Regions from separate parts of the Homo sapiens genome. Here all the other regions are linked to region 4. Evidence: promoter capture Hi-C in 16 types of primary human blood cells and fetal thymus (Javierre and others, 2016). All regions are on one chromosome and are shown on one strand. The core of a region is centred on a gene start or on the middle of the fragment in contact, and the rest is flanking DNA. Distances in the headings are between cores, read along the strand shown. Region 1 has its middle 6.7 kb from the start of AUH. Region 2 holds the start of IARS1 (isoleucyl-tRNA synthetase 1). Region 3 overlaps TUT7 (terminal uridylyl transferase 7). Region 4 holds the start of CKS2 (CDC28 protein kinase regulatory subunit 2).

Region 1 (4,322 bases), core at 1,082-3,581, 2.1 Mb after region 4:
CTTTTTTAAAAATCTTTTAATTTTTTTTTTTTTTTACTAGAAACAAGGGTGTCACTATGTTACCCAAGCTGGTTTTGAACTTAGGCTCAAGCCGTCCTTCTGCCTCAGCCTCCCAAAGCGCTGGATTATATGTGTGAGCCAGTGGGCCCAGCCAAAGCCCATATTCTTAATCACTAGTTAGAACAGCCTTTCAATAAATGTTAAGGTACTCAATAAAATGTCATGACCTCTGGAATTTCTACTTTTCAATGAAAGATTGTCAAGTATGAAACAGGAATAATGAGTATCAGTTTGGGAAAAGGCGGGTAGGGCTTGTTGTTTGAAATGAGAAGAGTATAGCCAGGTGTGGTGGTGTGCATTGGGAGGTTGAAGCAGGAGGATTGCTTGAGCCCAGGAGTTCAAGGTCAATCTGGGCAACATAGCAAGACTCTGCCACTGAAAAAAATAATAATTAAAAAAAAAAGGAAGAAATGGCAAGAGTGAAAGAGTGGAAAAGCTGGAGTATTCAGAGTACTACACCCACTAATCTCCTGACCTGCTTCTACTTCTTCTACATCCAGCAGAACTGTGAGGCAAACAAACCTCCTTTCTTTAGAAACTACCCAGCCTCAGGTATTCTTTTATAGCAATGCAAAATGGACTAAGGCAAGGACCAAATATCTTTTTCTTAGTATATCACGATATCATAAGCCCCATGGTGGCCTTTCACTCCAGAAGGTCTTTTCCCATCTAGTCTGAGTACTTACCTCCAAAAGGAGGGATTGGATGTCAAATCCAGAAAATCCAATCTCTAGAGCCTTGAAGGGATCCAGTAAGCCTTACCCAAGGACACTACCCCCAGAGAAAAGGTATGTTTGAAGACACCCTCTCTCACTCTGCCCTGCAGAGACTCCTTGACCAGACACTGCAATCCACCCCCACCAAGGTATTGTAGGTCTCATTTTAGGTAGCAACCATGTGTGCCTATGAGCTCCATGACCTCTGGAGAAGAGTAGACATTATACAGACAAGTAAAGAGAGGCATAAATTACTGAAAGTTACATAGCTAATAAATAACAAAGCTGGAACTGGAACTCAAACACTCCACTCCAAAAACCTGAGTTCTTAATCATGACTTTCTTTTGTTTGCTTTTCCTAATTGATTGTAAGGGCTTCATCTTCTCCACCACTACTCTGACCCCAATCAGTAGGGAGTTTTATCAAGCCCTTCTATTATCATTTCATTTGGAAATTTCACCCACTGCGTTGGATCCTGCATGGTCACGATTTCCCAGATACTGCTTCTTCCCCCTGACAATTCCATAGTTGCTGATTGTGTATACGTGCATACATGCAAATATGCAAACACATGTGCCATGTCCTGAAAATACAAACCTTCGTCATCTCAGGATGAGAGGGATGGGGAGACTAGGGGATGAGATCAAAAAGGTACATGGCATCTTTTGGGGATGATAAGGATGTCCTAAGTTTATTGTATGATGGTTGCACAAACTCTGAGAATATACCAAAAACCATTTAATTGTATATGTTAAATCGGGGGATTGCTTGGCATGTGAATAATACTTCAATAAAGCTGCTGCAAAAGTCAGGAGACAGGATTTGGGATCCTTGAAGAGATGACTGATTGAGTGTCTGAGACAGAGAAAAACTAGGTGAGATCAGAATATCTCCTTGTGCCAGAAAACACTGAAGTGCTCCACAATTGACAGAAATGTGAAAGACCACAGCTCGGAAGGGTTTCTACTGGCCTTGCCTGGGACAATTAGAATGTTGAAGAGAACCATGCTAGTAATTGATAGAAACATTTAGCATTTTTTAAAGATATCAGTGAACAATTAAGTAAATGGATGGCAGATGGTAGAAGCCAGTTTCTCCCTGTTGGTATGGGAGACTACAGATAAGCAAGGGAAGGAGGCCAGGATGATTTGTTTGATAAGGGTTTAGCACTGGAAACATCAGTATGAACTCATGTTTAGCTTAATATAGATATAGATGGATACACATAGAAACATCTACAGATAAGTACATATGCACACATGAGTATACACACACTCCTGCTCTGTCAGCTAAGATGAACTAGAAGCAATAACACACCATCGACAATGAGCACACCTAGTGTCAGATCTTGGTTTCTAATACCATCCTCCAGTAAAAAAGAATTCCCCATTGATCCTTGGAGAAATGGGTGATTCTAGGACTGGGGCAGGAAATATACAAGATGAGCCTGAAGGATGTTGTGGTGCCAGAAAATAAGAAAGTGTTCAAAATAACCCCAAAATGATGGGCAGATGTCAAAGAGATGCAGGAACCAACTGAGAGAGTTCCCAGTGGCCACAGCTGGAACAAGATGAACAATAGAATAAAGTGGCATAGCATGATATCCGAAAGCATAAAATAAATATCCATGTATACATACTGATACAGATAAATGATTGAATAGTTAAATGAGAAGAGACCAAACTCCCAAGCAGAAGAATTTCCAATAATTCATGTAGATACTCTGCCCTACCTGAGGAAGGTGTCAAAGATAAAGCCAACAGTAGTTAAAGTAGTAAAGACAGATATTAATCAGTGATATACTATTGTAATAACATAATATGATATTCTTGTCTGCTTTCAGCAGGTCTAGGATAGAAATTGTTCATAAAATTTTAAGTCTAAGATCAGGAGGCCCACCCTATTGCTTTTAACCCTCTTAGTTGTAAGATAGGTGGTATCTCCCTCATACCCCTCCAAATAGGTAAAAGGAATACCTGCTCTATCAGGGTATAACTAGACATCTATGGTCTTAGCCCCCTCTTGTTTATAGTCTTTGGGTTCATTGTGCCTTGTCGCTTAAGCGCTTGTCTAGTGGATGAGAATGTTATTCTCTCCTCTAAATCAACCAACCTTCTATGGAGTAAAGGGTACTGAAGAGGATATGTCAGTCAGTTCGGGCTGCCATAACAAATACCACACACTGGGCAGTTTAAACAATAGACATTTATTTCCTCAAAGTTCTGGAAGCTGTAAGTTCGAGATCAAGGTGTCAGCAGGACTGGTTCCTTCTGAGGTCTCTCTCTTTGGCTCGCAGATGGTGTCTCCTTCCTGTGTTCTTACACGGCCTTTCCTCTGTGCGTGCACATCCCTGGTATGTCTTCTCCTTATAAGACCATCTTTCCAACTCTCTTTTCAGTAAATGGTGCTGGGGAAACTGTCTAACCATATGTAGAAGAATGAAACTGGACCCCTATCTATCACCATATACAAGGGAAATAACTCAAGATGAAATAAAGACTTAAATTTAAGACCTCAAACTGTAACAATCAGAGAAGAAAACCTAGGAAATACTCTTGTGAACATCCATCTAGACAAAGAATTTACGGCTTAGTCCTCAAAAGCAATTGCAAGAAAAGCAAAAATTGATAAGTGGGACCTTATTAAATTACAGAGCTTCTGCACAGCAAAAGAAACCATTAACAGAGTATACAGACACCCTACAGAACAGGAGAAATATTTACAAACTATGCATCCAGCACACCCTAATATCCAGAATCTATAAAGACCTTAAACAAATCAACAAGAATGAAACAAATAACCTCATTTAAAAATGGGCAAAGCTGCCAGGCATGGTGGCTCACACTTATAATTCCAGCACTTTGGGAGGCCGAGGCAGGCAGACCACTTGGGCTCAGGAGTTGGAGACCAGCCTGGACAACATGGCAAAACTCCATCTCTACTAAAAATATAAAAATTAGCCAGGCGTGGTGACACACATCTGTAGTCCCAGCTACTGGGGTGGGGAGCTGAAGTAGGAGGATTGTTTGAGCCTGGGAGTCAGAGGTTGCAGTGAGCTGAGATCGGGCCACTGCATTCCAGCCTGACTGAGAGTGAGATCCTGTCTCAAAAAATAAAAATAAAAAATAAACAATGGGCAAAGGACATTAACAGACACTTCTCAAAAGAAGACATACAGTCAGCTAACATGAAAAAATGCTCAATATCACTAATTATCAAATAAATGCAAATAAAAACCACAATGACAGTGGTCCCCAACTTTTTTGGATCAGTGACCGGTTTCATGGAAGACAATTTTTCCATGGACTGGGCCAGGGGTGGGGGCGGGAGGGAATGGGGATGAAACTGTTCCACCTCTGATCATTGGGCATTAGGGTTTTATACATAAGGAACACTCAACCTAGATCCCTTGTATGCACAGTTCACAATAGAGTTTGGCTCCTCTGAGAATCTCATGCCCCCCCTGATGTGACAGGAGGCGGGGGCTTGGGTGGTAATGCTCACTGGCCCACCTCTCACCTCCTGCTGTATGGCCCGGTTCCTAA
Region 2 (4,755 bases), core at 1-2,500, 3.0 Mb after region 4:
CTATTCAGGAAGAATCATGTACCAGCGACCGGGCTATGGCAGCTGCTGAGGAGAAGCAGCCTCCATGCATAAATCACAGGATTGCTATGGCCCATCGAATCCACTGGAGAGCTGTCCATGCACAACAGCATCCAGCAACCACAGGGCAGGGACAGAGCAGGTTAACCTTGCACAACAACCTTGTTGTGCAGAGGGATGCCATCCCCTTTGCTTCCCTCTTATTATAATCCAGGCCCTTGACTCTTCGCTGCTCCACAACTCCTTCAGGTCACCTTAACCTCAACTTCCCGTTCAGCAATTTCGAGACCACCCTCCCTGATATTAACTACATATTATTCACATTACTTCATATTATTTTGCCTCAATATATTTTAGAAACGCACACTAAAACCATGTTTTGTTTAAAATTTCATAATTCCTTCCAGAATTGCTTCCCTTTTAAACTACTGTATTAGTGGTTCCAATATTCTTCCCATTACTTAGGCATGACATTTTTGAGTCACCCCTGACACTACTCAGAAGATACACACAACCAATTAATCATCAAGTCATGTGGATCCTACCTATAAGCCTATTTCTGTTCCCCCTTTTCATTCTCCTCTAAATCCATTTCTGTTTCTCCTTTTATTCTCAGGTCTTCATAATCTATTAAGTCAAATGTAACCTGAAAGTGGGACCGTCTCAAACGTTTCCTCAATTTAGTTATATCCTATTAACATAGACTCCACAGGTATACTCATGCAAATGTACAAAATGTGTATACAATGACATTCACCGAATAATTGTTTCTCCAGGCAAATAACTGAAAACAATCTAAATATTCATGGTGACTGAAGTAAATTACGGTACATCAATAAAATAAGTATCTCGCAGCCATTGAAGGTAATAAATTAAGACATATAAAAATACGTATTGCCTATACATAAAGTCACAGCTATATCAATTTATACTATGTATATCATTTTAAAAAGATTTTACTCATTTCAAACACTACCTCATTCAAAAAGGCGACCATAAATTCCTGAGGCTGGAAACGAACGAACGGCAAGCCCCGAAGAAACACGCTCTTTTAAAAATTAAATCTTGTGCTACTGTTTCGGGGTTGTAACGCGTGCGTGACCCTCGTCTTTGAGGGCCGGATCCTGCAGGGAAGAGAGGGCGTACCTGAGGGGCCTCGCGTGCCTGGACAGCCCCGCGGGCCAGCAAGCCTAAAAGCAACTCATCCGGCGTCCACGCTGCAACCGGGCGCACGGAGGTGATGCAACGCGCTGAAAATGCGGGATCCAGTGAAGGAGACAGGCTCCGCACCGGCCAATCAGTGCGCGCTGCCTGACACCTGCCAACAAGCCAGGCGCCGATTGGTCGCGCCGGACATGATTGCGCCCACTGGCTCGGATGGTGCGACAGTGGTGCTTGCTGGTTTTGCGCCTCCACGTGGAAAACGAACCAGCGCTGAGGGCGGCGCTGTGCGTGCTGCTTGTATCCGTTGCAGTAGTGTAGACCGAGGTCTCACTCGGGTTGTGGGCACCTCCGGGTAGGTGACGGCCCACTGGGAAGGGGCGCCGAGGTCGGGGCTCATGTTCTTCATCTTGTTTGCTTTTGTCAGTATTTATCTGACTGGACACTTCGTACCTAAATTGATAACGACAAACAGCAACTTCCGGAGAGGTGGCTTTAATAATTATACTTTTGGGCCCTGAGCCGCCGACCCCAAAGCCGCTTCTCCTATCATAAATGGCTACGTGAAACGATAATAACAAAAGGGAAGGAAGGGTCTGACAACCAGATTTAAAAGTTTTATTGTATTTTACTTAAAATGTTTCCGGTAATGAAAACATTGCACAAACGATTTTTTTTTCTTTTTTTGAGAAGCGGTCTCATTCTGTCGCCCAGGCTGGAGTGCAGTGGCACGGTCATGGCTCACTGCAGCCTCAACCTCCCCGGATCAGATGATCCTCGCACCTCATCCCTGGCCAAGTAGCTGGGACTACAGGCTAGCGCCACCACGCCCGGCTAATTTTTGTATTTTCTGTAGCAACGGGGTCTTGCTATGTTGCCTAGGCTGCTGTCAAACTCGTGGGCTCAAGCGATCTGCTTGCCTTAGCCTCCTTAACTGTTGGGATTACAGGCATGAGCCACTGCACCCGGCCTGCATACTTATTATCATTGCTATGAGTCGGCTTGGTACCTTACTGATCTGCTGGTTAAAATCTGGAGCCTTGCAAAGGGCAGTAGGCCTCGGGCTTTGGCCCCAGAGCCTCTAAAGGAAATTCTGGATCTTGCCAAATTGGGAGTAGTTCCGTAGCTGCCTATTGTATCCGTTAGAGGGATATAAAAAATTTATCTGGCCTAGAATAGGTAGAATGCAGTTTCTTATTAAGTTTAGGAACATTTTGATAGTCTGTTCAGCATATATTTAACTTTACTTACCGTCTTGGCCCTGTGTGAAGGATTAAAGTGGTTTCATGTCCTCCATCATGGGTAACTCAGTGTTCTGACTATACTCACATAACGTACATAATTTAATAGCTGCAAATCTTGTTAATTAACTGAAAGTATTTGGAATGTGTTTGAAGTTTTCACATTCCTCACGTTGCCACCTTGTTCAGTTCATTTTTGTCACCTATCCAGAGAGCCCAGATAGAGCCAGACAGAGGGCTCCTGGACAAAGGTGAGGTAGGCCAAGTCTAATTATTTAAAAATTTGATTGAGAAACATTTATATTAATAGTACTGTTGTGTTGGAAATAATGCTCAAAATCCTAAGGAAATTGAACATTCAAACAAAGGATTTTCAGCAAAGCAATTTTACTTCTGCGCAGAGGGGTGCTTCTCCTTGGCCAGTCACCATGAGAGCACACCAGAACAAAGGGGCACGAGAACCTTTATCCCTGACACAAACCCTGCCCCTGTACCCTTTCTCCATTGGCCGGAGTTGGGCCTCACAATCTAAAATAACCACAGTTGGCTAAACATTTTAACTTTCTTTAGATAAGGTGGGCACGTAAGAGAGAGGGGAAAGGGGGAAGGGCTGTCTGTAATGAGCTAGAGAGCTAGTCTTCTCTTCGGATAAGGAATACGAGCTGGTACTGATAACGCCTGGTACTGTGGCCTGTCTAGGCATGTAACAAAGGCAGAAAGGAAAGAGGAGAAAAAGGGAAGAGGGGGGCACTGTGAATTAAAGAATAAAGGATTGATCAGGCTATTTGAAGAGAAACCTCATCATGTCCCACAGTTGGAAGGTATGGGAAGACTAAGTCTAGAAAAAGTTAAGCAAATGAAAAAATTCCAGCAAAAAAGTTAACTGTAGTCAAAATATATTACTTGGACTGAAGAGGTGAATAATTTTTTCACCTTTTCAGAATATGTAGTGTCTGGAAGTGAAAAACCAAGAAATCAGAGCATAAGCATGTTAGGTAGAAACATGGAGGTAAATACTAGAGAAATTAAATTGCTGAAGGTGGTTTCATCTGGGGAGCAGGAACTGGGGGGTGGGCAAGGCTACTTGATGTTACTTATTTGTCTGCTTGTGAAACATGTGCCGGATTTAAATTACGGCCACACATTCTGACACTCCTCCCACTAAGAAGTGAGGATCTGTGTCCCCTCCCTTTCAGTCTGGTTGGGCTGTGTGTCAGTTTAAACCTGTAGAATACAGTGAAGTGACTGAGCCGGTTTCTGGGCCAGGCCTTAAGAGACAGGCAGCATCTGCTTCCTGCCTCTGAGAACACTTGCTCCTAGAGCTTTTTTGCTATGCTGTAAGGAAGCCCATGAACAGGCACTGAGTGGGCCATCTTAGAAACAGATCCCGTAGCCCTAGCTGAACCACCCCAGTGAAAGCACACAGCACAGATCAGCAGTCCCTAGTGAGTGTTGACCAAATTGCAGTATTTGTGCATAAAATAAATGATTGTTACTGAGATGATTTGCTATGCAGCAATAGAAAATAAGGTACAAATGTGATCTACATCAAGAGAAGGTAGAAAGTGTGAATTATTTATCCTGCTGCTTAGTTGTCCACACTCTCCTTGAAGTCTGAAGTTTTGGAAACCTAGGAATCCAGAATTACTCTTCAAGTTATTTAGTTCCTTGGACCCTTACTAAAAAAACATAGAGCATAAGCCCTAGGGTCATAATGGTTAACACACCAGATGAAATCCCAACAGTTAAGAGTTTATATTCAGCATAGGTAAATCAATAAATACTAATTTTAGGTACACACATCATGGCTTAATGATAGTCCCTTGGAACTATATAATACTATTTCTTTTTTTTTTTTTTTTTAAGATGGAGTCTCACTCTGTTACCCAGGCTGGAGTGCAGCAACATGATCTCAGCACTGCAACCTCTGCCTCCTGGGTTCAAGTGATTCTCCTGTATCAGCCTCCCTAGCAGCTGGGATTACAGGTGTGAGCCACCACACCCAGCTAATTTTTGCATTTTTAGTAGAGATGGGGTTTCACCATGTTGGCCAGGCTGGTCTTGAAATCCTGACCTCCTCATGATCCGCCCGCCTTGGCCTCCCAAAGTACTGAGATTACAGGTGTGCGCCATCACGCCCGGCCTATGTAATACTATTTCATACAGAGCCCATTTTGATAGGAGACGTATGTCTTGAAATCTAGGCAGGTTGGTTTATTTAATGTAATGTTAAATCTGTTTCCCTATTTGGGCTCAGGGTCCTGACTCCTAATTGTGACTACCTATCTTTCAGGCACTTGGTATTTTTCATAAGCTTTTAGTCTAACTAGAATTT
Region 3 (4,949 bases), core at 523-3,022, 3.0 Mb before region 4:
GCTTTTGGCAAGTTGAGAGTTAGTAAATAAACAGTTTAAAGAAATGAGACCTTTGCTTTTCTCTGCACACCACCACTGGCACCCTAGCATGGAAGTCTGCATCAACATCAATAAAGGAGTCTGAGGAAAGAAGAAGAAAAATATTAAGTTGGTTAATTAAAGCTTTGTTTAAAAGCAGAACCAGATAAAGTACAAGTACCAGTTGTCCCTTAGCTGTTGAGTCTTTTGAAAGACCACTACTAAATAATGCTCTGCAATGACTTGAAAAGGAAAAAATATTACATTCAAAAACCAAGTTATCACATTAGTGTAAAACCCTTAGTTTGTAAAGTGAATGTTTCATTATAAGTGACTACATCATTGGATCAGAAAATTCAAATGTTATATGGATAACAATTAGAAATATAGGTAATACATTTAAAAACAAAGTTGCTGTAAAAGCTACTAAAATATTCAGTGTCAAAATATGTATTGATCGAAGACAAAATTTAACCAAAACAAGGAGGATGGGGATGACTAATTCAAGAGATGACACAGTTTCATAAGGACTATGTAAAACACAAAGAGCCATAAAGCCCCAAGCTGGACATTGTATTAGACAACTGATAAACCTAAATGGGCACCACTCTGTGGATTCATTAATTAGGGTTGGGTTACACCTATTCACTGTTGGTAAAATACTGATTTTAACCATTGATAAAAGCAGATTATCCTTCAGTTTTACCCTCAAGAGTACATTTTACATATTTTGCATTTCTTAGTCACATCTAGGACTCATTTAATCTTTATAAATAGTGATGATGTCATCAAGCTAAAAGCTTTACTTATGAAATGGTTATTCTGCATAGTAGAACTACTAACAGGACTCTAGTTAATAATTCATGGGCATTTGCTTTGGATATTACCCACATAAATAATTTTAAAAGCATGCCTTGCTATTTTCAAAGTTTGAGAAATAAGATAGATCCAAATTATAGACAACATAAAAATTTTTTAAATGTGGAATTTGGCCTTACCACTGTTCTTTAAACATTCTTGAACAAGTAAGAGGACATCTGGCTGAGACATCTAGGAAATAAATCAATGAATACATGAAATTATTCCTAAGTGATTTTGCTTCACTGATATAAGAGTCATCCGAAGTTCCCCAAATTCCTTTCTAAATGAGAAATGCACATTGCTATCAAAGTAAAGAAATTACTCACTATGTTGTTTGCATATGTCAGTCAAAGACAGACAGATCAACACCAAATGAAGACAAATGTGGGCAAGAGACCTACTATACAACTAACTTCTGATTTAACTAATTATTGAGGTTAACCTGCCTCTCAGCAAGTCTCAAAGTGGTAGCTGGAAGTTTGTCAAACTGCTAACAATATTACCTTTCACTCTAATACCATTGCAACAGATAGCTTACTGGTCCCGGAGTCAGTCTTGCACTTCTTTTTAAAATCCTTGTTTCGCAATGGAGCCAGGGCCATTTAAAATCATAAACTGTATCCTTACAACTCTCAATGACTTCTTACTGCCCTTAGGTCAAAACCAAATTCTTTATTTACCATGGTCTACACAATTCGGCCAGTCAAGCCCAGCCTACCTAGCCATCCTAATCTCCTGCTCTTCTTTTTCTTGGTCCCTTCACCATACTTACACAACCTTTCTTTTAGCTCCTTGAATATGCCAAACTCTTTATTGATTTAGGGTATTTGCAAATGCTGCTCCCCCTGCCTGAAACTCTTTTCCCTCCCGTTTCCCCCTCTCCTGCAGGCTCCTTTTCGTCTTTTAGAACTCAGCTTAAATGTTCCCTCTTCAAAGAAGCCTTCATGACTGCTGTATCTCTGCCCAGACCTTGTCATTTTCTATCCCTGAACCTTTACCTGCACAGCTCTCACTATAATTACAAGGTAATTACTAATCTCCTTTACTAGATGAGTTCCATAAAGAGGAACCATCTCTGTTTTGTCCTTTATAACCTAGTATGTCTGCCATACAAATGGGATGAGTGAATATTTGCTAAATGAATTAATGACACCGGATCAAAATAACTGCTATGGCTGGTAAATCACTGATCAGAATTTAAGGTTAAAAAAACAGTCTATTGGGTAGCTTACCAGGTAGCTACAGCACTCAGGTTTAGCAAGAAGTAAGAGGTTGTAAAATAGAACCTCTGGGGCCCCAGAATCTGGATTTTTTTTGAGAGAGGTGGGGCTGGCCAGGCTGTTCATGAACTCCTGGGCTCAAGTAACCCTCCAACCTCAGTCTCCCGAGTAGCTGGGATTAGAGGGTGAAGCCACTGCACCCAGCTCAGAATATGGATTTTTAACAAGCAACCCAAGTAACTGCAAACACATCATCTATAAACAGGCCTGTGGGAACTAACAGCAGAGAAATGGATAATCTACTAAAGTGCCTTTCAGTTTTTTGTTTTTTTAAGAGATAGGGTCTCACTATGTTGCCCAGGCTGGAATGCAGTGGCAATTCTCAAGTGCAGTCACAGCTAACTACAGCTTTGAACTTCTGGGCTCGTGATCCTCCCGCCTCAACCTCCAGAGTAGCTGGGACTACAGAACTGTGCCGTGTCCAGCTACACTCCAGTTTTAAAATTCTAACTCATCAACATACTTTTAAATCATGTTTAAACCAGAAATCCAGGCTAGGTGTGATTCTTTAAAAGCCTAATTATTTTAACAAAATAGGTATACAAAAAGAGGAAACTCCAGAGACAATTAAGCTTGCAGATCATAAATGTTTAAATATCTACACTTTAAAATCTGAATTCCCTTTCTGCCACTGGAAAGTTGATTTTATCAAGAAAATTTACTCTTTTTAAGTAACAGAACCTAAACACCCCCATCAGGTGCACATGGTTGAAAAACCAGTGTTGGATGTATAAAAGATCTATAGACTAAAATAAGTATGAAAATTTGCAGAGTATTAAAAAAAAAAGCTCTGAAACTGAAGGCAAGCGGATGCTGTCATTACACTTAAAATATCTTCAAATATCTAAAATATATTCATAGACAGTTTACATTTGTAAGAAAGAATTTCCATACCACTCTGAAAGTGCCAGCATTTCATTTTGTACTTACAATGGCTGGAAACTGGATGTCAATGTTTACATCCGAATTTTTGAAACCCAATCTGCTACAGGATGACCCATATAATCTTAGGGAACAATCTAAAAAATAAATAAATAAATAAAAGTAATAAATACAGTAGAATTTCTCAAAAGTTATAACAAAACACTGCTATTTCAGAAGCAGAACCATCAATTAAAATTACACACAAAAGCAAACTTGTATTCAAGACTAGCATAAACAAAGGACAGAAATAGGTGGCTCTTTGCTCTTCACTTAATTTAATAGGGAAGGCTGCATCAACTATGATTTAGCTTAACAGCCACGCTTCATGTCAGTTGTAAAACGTCAAATTGCTACGTTATCATGTATTTTATGAATAAAATACTATTATCTAAATATCACATTTTATGAAGAAAATACTATTTAAAATATTTTTTTAAATGTGCCAGTTGAAAAAGAATGTCTTTGTTTAAATTTATAAACCTGATAGTATATTCAAGAGCTAATGCAAACGTTTCTTTTCACCTTTTAGAATGCACCCATTGGTGTAATTTACTATAAGGAGGTTTTAGTAAAACAATAATAAAAATAATCTTTTGACATATTTAATATGAATTTCTCATTATATTATGAACAAAAAGCGTTTGCTGTAACAAAATCCCAATAAACTTTTGAAAAATAATTACAATATCACTGACATAGGTAGCAGACACTTCACTCTTCAGAGGAAGATGTGTGTGTATATGAGTACTATCTATAGTATAGCATTTATTTTCAGTGTTTTACTATGATGCCAAAATAGTATCCTTTCTCATCAGGGGTTGGTTTTCTTGTTTGTTTAAGGTTTGCTAAAATTCAAGTGATTTCTTTGGGTTTTAGCAGTTTTCCACAACAAAGTACATTCATTTTTACATGAAATTTTACAGTAAAAATCATCAGAATTACAACTGACTTTTCAGGAAATACATGTATAATAAAATGAGATTATTTTCCCTTATTCTTATGAAAGTATATGCGTTACAAATACTATATGTATGATCTTTCAGTAGAACAAACAGTTTTAAGATTTATAAGGTGACAAATATAAATAATGATTCCAACCCTAGCTGTGGATCAGAATCACTTGTCGAGCTTTGTAAAAATAGTTGTCCATGGCTTCACAGATAATTCTGATGCACAGCAAGAATTGAGAATGATGAAGCTATTCCAACCATTTACCTAAACAGCAATGGCCAGTGGGGGTTGGGGGATGATGTGGGGTGGGGTTTGTTGCCATCAAGGATTGACAGCAGTTGTGTCAGGCATTGAACATACCTGACCTTAAATTTTCATAGTAATACACTCCAAATAGTTGTGCCCCCTCCCCATCATGCCAAAGGTCTAAAGTTAAAAACAGGCAGAAGACAGACATAACTTGGAAAATCAATTCAACAGTGCACAAAATCCAATACAAATTTCTTAAAACTAGTTTTCAAAGTTCATTTTAGATGCTGCAATTCTCTTAAGTACAGTTAAATAAAATCTTTTTTTTTTTTTTTGACATGAATAACCTGAAAATAACTTCAGGATACTTCTCTTGATTTTAACTCAAAATATGGTGTCAATTTAGATGAGCGGAAAGGGAAACATACATACACAAGAGTCCCACAGTGCCCCAATAATGCAGGGCATTCAACTTAAAGTTCACACACAGGGTAAAATTTATAATGGAAACAGGTTTATAATGACAATGCATATGAAAGTCCTTGTTACCTTAGGGAAAGCCAGGGAAAACAAAAAACAAAAAAATAGAAAACACAAGAGCTTCATGACATGGTAAATAAATTTTTATTTGATGAAAATTACTATTGGTAGGAGAAATGAATGAGG
Region 4 (4,385 bases), core at 278-2,777:
GGGGGTGGAATTCCAAACACCCTCTTCCCCCAAGAAGTGATTGTATTAGGAAGTTAGGAGGTGGGGCCTTCGGGAGGTAATCAAGATTAGATGGTCATGAGGGTGGGGCCCTCACCCATGGAGATTATAAATGTCCTTAGCCGGCCTGTCTCACTTGTTCAGAAACCGGAAAAGTCCGTGGTCTGCAGTGTGGAAAAGGGCACCCGGACCTCTTACTTCCAGCCTCTAGTCTGGAAACTTTGTCTAAGGTACCCCATCTACATTACTTAGTCACAGCCACCCTGAACCCACTAGCCTGTACTGCGCTGGAGCATTTCGCATAAAATGAAATTAACATAAAAATGACACGTGCTCGTTGTGGAAAAAATACCAAAAAGATCACTTTTAATTCTGTCATCTAAAAATAACCACCAGTTACATTTATAAATTTCTTCCAGTAACTTTTTTATATGAACATGTTTTTAAACTTGGGTCAATATTAAAAGACCAGAAGTTGTTAAACATCATTTTAAATCCCCTTATCCAGGAATTAGCATTGTTATTCTTGGCCGCAGCAGAATATTATTTTATTCCCTCAAGCTTTCCATGGCTTGGGTCTGCCCTGGTTTTGAACATTAGGTTAGGCTACAGAAAGCATTCTGGGTCTCTGGCCCATTTGTTTCTTTCTTTGTGGAGACGGGGTCTGGCTCTGTTGCTCAGGCCTGTCTGGAACTCCTGGGCTCAAGCGACACTCCACCTCGGCCTCCCGAGTGGCTGGGACCACTGGCGCCCGCCGCCACCGCGCCGGCTCCGGGCCTCTCTCTACGCGTGGCTCCGCAGGCTCCATTCTCCACACAGTCGTCTAGGGGGGCGCCAGGAGCCCCGCGACGGGCCAGGCCGGAAGCTCAGCAAGTGCACCAGGCGGCGAAACGGCCGGCTGCGCAGGGCAGCCCCGGACACAGCCACGCCGCGGCCGCCCGGCGCTCCCCCGACCCAGCCGACCACGAAGCCGCCCTCCCCCTCACACCGCAGAACCTTTCTGCCTTTTACTACTTTTCAAAGTGGACCTAGGCTCCTGGCTCGAGCCTGAGGGGATACAAGGGATCACGAGGAGCGCCATCACCGTGCAAGGTCGACAGCTTCCGCTCAAAGCCCTGTGGCCCACGCTTCCGGCCTCGACCGACTACGTCATCACCAAACCCCGTGATACCTCACTCCACCTTCAGGTCCTCCGTCCCAACGGTTCCGTGTCCTGGAACTTTCCACGTTCCTGCGCACGCGCTCTGCGGCCCTTAACGTCCCGACTTCGCCCTCCTCTGGCCACGCCCCTGCCCGTTAAGGGCCCTGCCACCCCCGTGACGTACCTATCTTCCCTCGGGCAACCTCGCAACAGATCTCTGATTGGCTGACCCAGGAAGCGGACTTTGCGAGGCGGCGGCGACGATAGGCTGGCAGCCGGCCGACTTCCGCAGAAGGTGATTGGTCGGCGCTGCTGTCCAATCGGCGGCGGGCTGTCGGATTCAAATCCGGATCGTTGGGACTGCGGTCGTTAGTCTCCGGCGAGTTGTTGCCTGGGCTGGACGTGGTTTTGTCTGCTGCGCCCGCTCTTCGCGCTCTCGTTTCATTTTCTGCAGCGCGCCAGCAGGATGGCCCACAAGCAGATCTACTACTCGGACAAGTACTTCGACGAACACTACGAGTACCGGTGGGCGCCTTTCTTAGACCCCGAGCCGGCTCCCTCAGCCGGGGCCCCCGCGGGCGGGGCGACCCAGGCATAGTAGGGTCGGGGGTGGGGGCCGGGGCCTGGGGGGCGGAGCCCGGGGCCGGAGGGCGAGGGCCGGGGTTTGGGGTCGCGGCCACCTGGCGCCCCGCGCAGTCGGACATGGTTGGGTGCCTGGCCGCGCCGGGCCGGTTGGGCCTTTGTTCGGTGTGCGCGGAGGGTGAGGGAAGAGTGCCCACCGGGCCGCATTTAGTACCTGGGTAGGAACCGGCGCAACTTGGGGGTCATGGGGTCCTCGGCGACGCGGAGTGACCATCCCGTCACTTTTTTCTCGGCCGTGGCCGAAGTAATTAGGCCGTTCAGTAGCTGGTCTCAGTTCCAGTTCTTTGAACCAGTCCAGGAAAACCCACCTGGTGCCGTCCTTTTTCCTTTAGCAACCGTGACACACTTTCCCTGTCGCTGACGGGGTGATGCAGCTTTTACTAGTTTGTGGTTTAGAATGGTCAAATGGTCATTTTCATCTGTTAACACAGAGGAACACTTTTCTTTTTCTTGTTTTTGAAGTGAGTGGTATAAGAATAAGCTTTGGAGGCGACCCCCCGAAAAATGAGCTTGATGGGGATTCGAAAATGTTTACTGGGTATGGTGATTTGGGCCATTATAGGTTAGCCGCAGTCATACAATTGAGGGTATTATTAAAGGAGTTTCATTTTAAGGCCGATTAAGAACTTGAGTGGACTTTGGGCATCATTTTCTGCTAGTATACACTGGCCAAATTTTGGGCTTTGAGAAACTTTTGCGTTTGAGTCCTGAAGCACCGTACTAGAACATGGTGGCTGTAATCGATCAGTAAAATTAGACAAATTTTAAATGTCCCTGTCCCCTTCCCCCCAATTAAAGTAGATTGGGGGAAAGCGAGTAGGGACATTTAAAATTTGTTGTCCTTACTGTATGCGGGACACTTCATTTAGGGCGTGGCTTCAGAAAACAGTCAACCCCTTTTTCTTAACTAGGTAGCGACTAGAACGCTGCGTTCTGGGATACTACCAAGATTTAGGGGAGATAAAGCCCATGCCATCGTTGGCCAAATTGTGACCTTGTTTTCTGTCTGCTGCCTTTGTAGGTTAGATTTCTCCGAATGCTATTTAAGGAAGAAAGAACAAAACAGTGGGTGGTTTCTCTTTTTCTCCCCCTCCCTAGTAGCATGGAAGTCTGTTTTCACATGAGGACTACTGAATATTTCTATGGGTAGTAGTAATTGCACCCTTTTGTATTCCTAGCTAGAAAAATAGCATGTTTTTCTGGCTGTAGGTAAATTTCAAGTAGATTGTGTTAACCTTATAGTAATAATAAACTATACTCGTGTAATATGCTGGCAGTGTTCAATTATGCGATGTTAATCAAGAGCCCTATTGAGGATATCCAATAATGAACACAATGTAAACCGTAATAATCTTACTAAAACCTAGAAAATTATTCTGAAACACATCTGGTGCCAAGTGTTTAGGATAAGGATTTAAGGGTCGGTACAAGTTTCTTTTAGGGTATAATATTGAAAATAAATGAAGCTATTTCTCAGACTTCTTTCTGATGGCAGTAGGTCGATTTTTTAGTTTTAATATACTCAAATGATTTGTGTGTGGTAATGTATAGAAGAAAGTTTACATATCTGAAGTGATGTATTTTAATCCAATAAAAATTAGAGCTGGTATTAATTGGCCAAGCCAGTAACCTTTATGAAACAGGATAGTAATTTCCACACATAATTTTAAAGGGGAAACTAGTAATAATATAGCACTAAGGCATGAGTCTAGGGTGGTTTGTATTAATATGTAATGGTGCAGCATGCAATGTAAATTTCAAAGGCTAGTATTTATTTTTCCCAGTGTGCAGTTATCTCTATCTTTCTTTGATTTTTCTTAATTACAAACTTAATTTCCTAGTCCTTTTACGTGAGGGTCTTAATGTTTCTAAGGGCATAACAGTGGGTGCCCCCACCCCCACATCATGGAAGTCTGTTTTCACAAGAGAAAAACTGTTAATTTTTCTGGGCAGCCTTACAAATTAGTAATACTTGCACTATTTTGCATTTCAACTGAAATAAACGTTAGATTTTGGAAATAATTTTCCTTACATGTAGTTAGTTTGAAATCTCTGTGTGGCAAAATACAGGTAGAATCCTCATATGGGGTTGATGCTACTTAAACATTTTTCCTTTATAAAGAAACCCTGATGGAGGAGAGCCTGTTTCCGTGTTTATGGAGAAGGGTGGTAACTTCTATCTAAATAACTTGTTGGTAGATTTATGTACTCTGTAAGTTTGATAGAAAAGGTACAAAAGCACTACATTTCTCTTTGAGAATAATCAACAAGATAGAACGTAGAAATAAGATAACAGATTATTTGAAGTTAGATGTTAAAGCAGCATTTCAAGAATGTGGGTGATAACTGGTAAGAATTACAAAGAATCACTATATAGTTCACTGGAATTGATGAAAACTCTACAAATTATGGTAGTAAGCTATGACTTGGTGGCCTTAAGGCAATCTAACAACACAGTAGAATTTTTCTGAGGCTCACTTTGCCCTGCAAATAAATTGGTACTTAACCACAGACTAAAATTTAAGTTGATGACAGCTGGGTGCTTATAGCGGGTTAGGGATTCAGTTTACTGTGTCTCAGAAAG

Evidence for each region. Contacts are between HindIII fragments. The CHiCAGO score rates a contact against its expected background, and 5 or more counts as called.
Region 1: a contact is called between a fragment that was not itself captured here and the fragment with the promoter of CKS2 in region 4, in 1 of 17 cell types (neutrophils). The highest score is 5.4, in neutrophils.
Region 2: a contact is called between the fragment with the promoter of IARS1 here and the fragment with the promoter of CKS2 in region 4, in 1 of 17 cell types (total B cells). The highest score is 5.3, in total B cells.
Region 3: a fragment that was not itself captured here is called in contact with the fragment with the promoter of CKS2 in region 4 in 1 of 17 cell types (total CD8 T cells); the score reaches 5.1 in total CD8 T cells.

The regions. Positions count from the first base shown.
Region 1 is chr9:91,366,451-91,370,772 of GRCh38, forward strand. No RefSeq gene overlaps it. Among named protein-coding and RNA genes, the nearest start is that of AUH, 6.7 kb to the left of the region's middle. The HindIII fragment of the contact is 7,448 bases long and covers 1-4,322 here.
Region 2 is chr9:92,292,447-92,297,201 of GRCh38, forward strand. It overlaps IARS1 (isoleucyl-tRNA synthetase 1), which reads right to left and starts at 1,251. Exons shown (of 34, transcript NM_002161.6): 1 at 1,165-1,251. MIR3651 (microRNA 3651) reads right to left here and starts at 101; the gene lies at 12-101. SNORA84 (small nucleolar RNA, H/ACA box 84) reads right to left here and starts at 147; the gene lies at 15-147. RefSeq lists an enhancer at 1,633-1,682. The HindIII fragment of the contact is 5,187 bases long and covers 1-4,732 here.
Region 3 is chr9:86,339,986-86,344,934 of GRCh38, forward strand. It overlaps TUT7 (terminal uridylyl transferase 7), which reads right to left. Exons shown (of 27, transcript NM_024617.4): 6 at 3,090-3,178; 7 at 1,017-1,068; 8 at 51-120. Among named protein-coding and RNA genes, the nearest start is that of TUT7, 12 kb to the right of the region's middle. The HindIII fragment of the contact is 1,913 bases long and covers 817-2,729 here.
Region 4 is chr9:89,309,668-89,314,052 of GRCh38, forward strand. CKS2 (CDC28 protein kinase regulatory subunit 2) reads left to right here and starts at 1,528. Exons shown (of 3, transcript NM_001827.3): 1 at 1,528-1,684. The coding sequence starts at 1,626. MIR3153 (microRNA 3153) reads left to right here and starts at 2,558; the gene lies at 2,558-2,639. LOC105376136 (a long non-coding RNA gene) reads right to left here and starts at 1,135. Exons shown (of 3, transcript XR_930101.4): 1 at 1-1,135. RefSeq lists a silencer at 834-1,063 and enhancers at 1,074-1,363, 2,034-2,083. The HindIII fragment of the contact is 1,703 bases long and covers 578-2,280 here.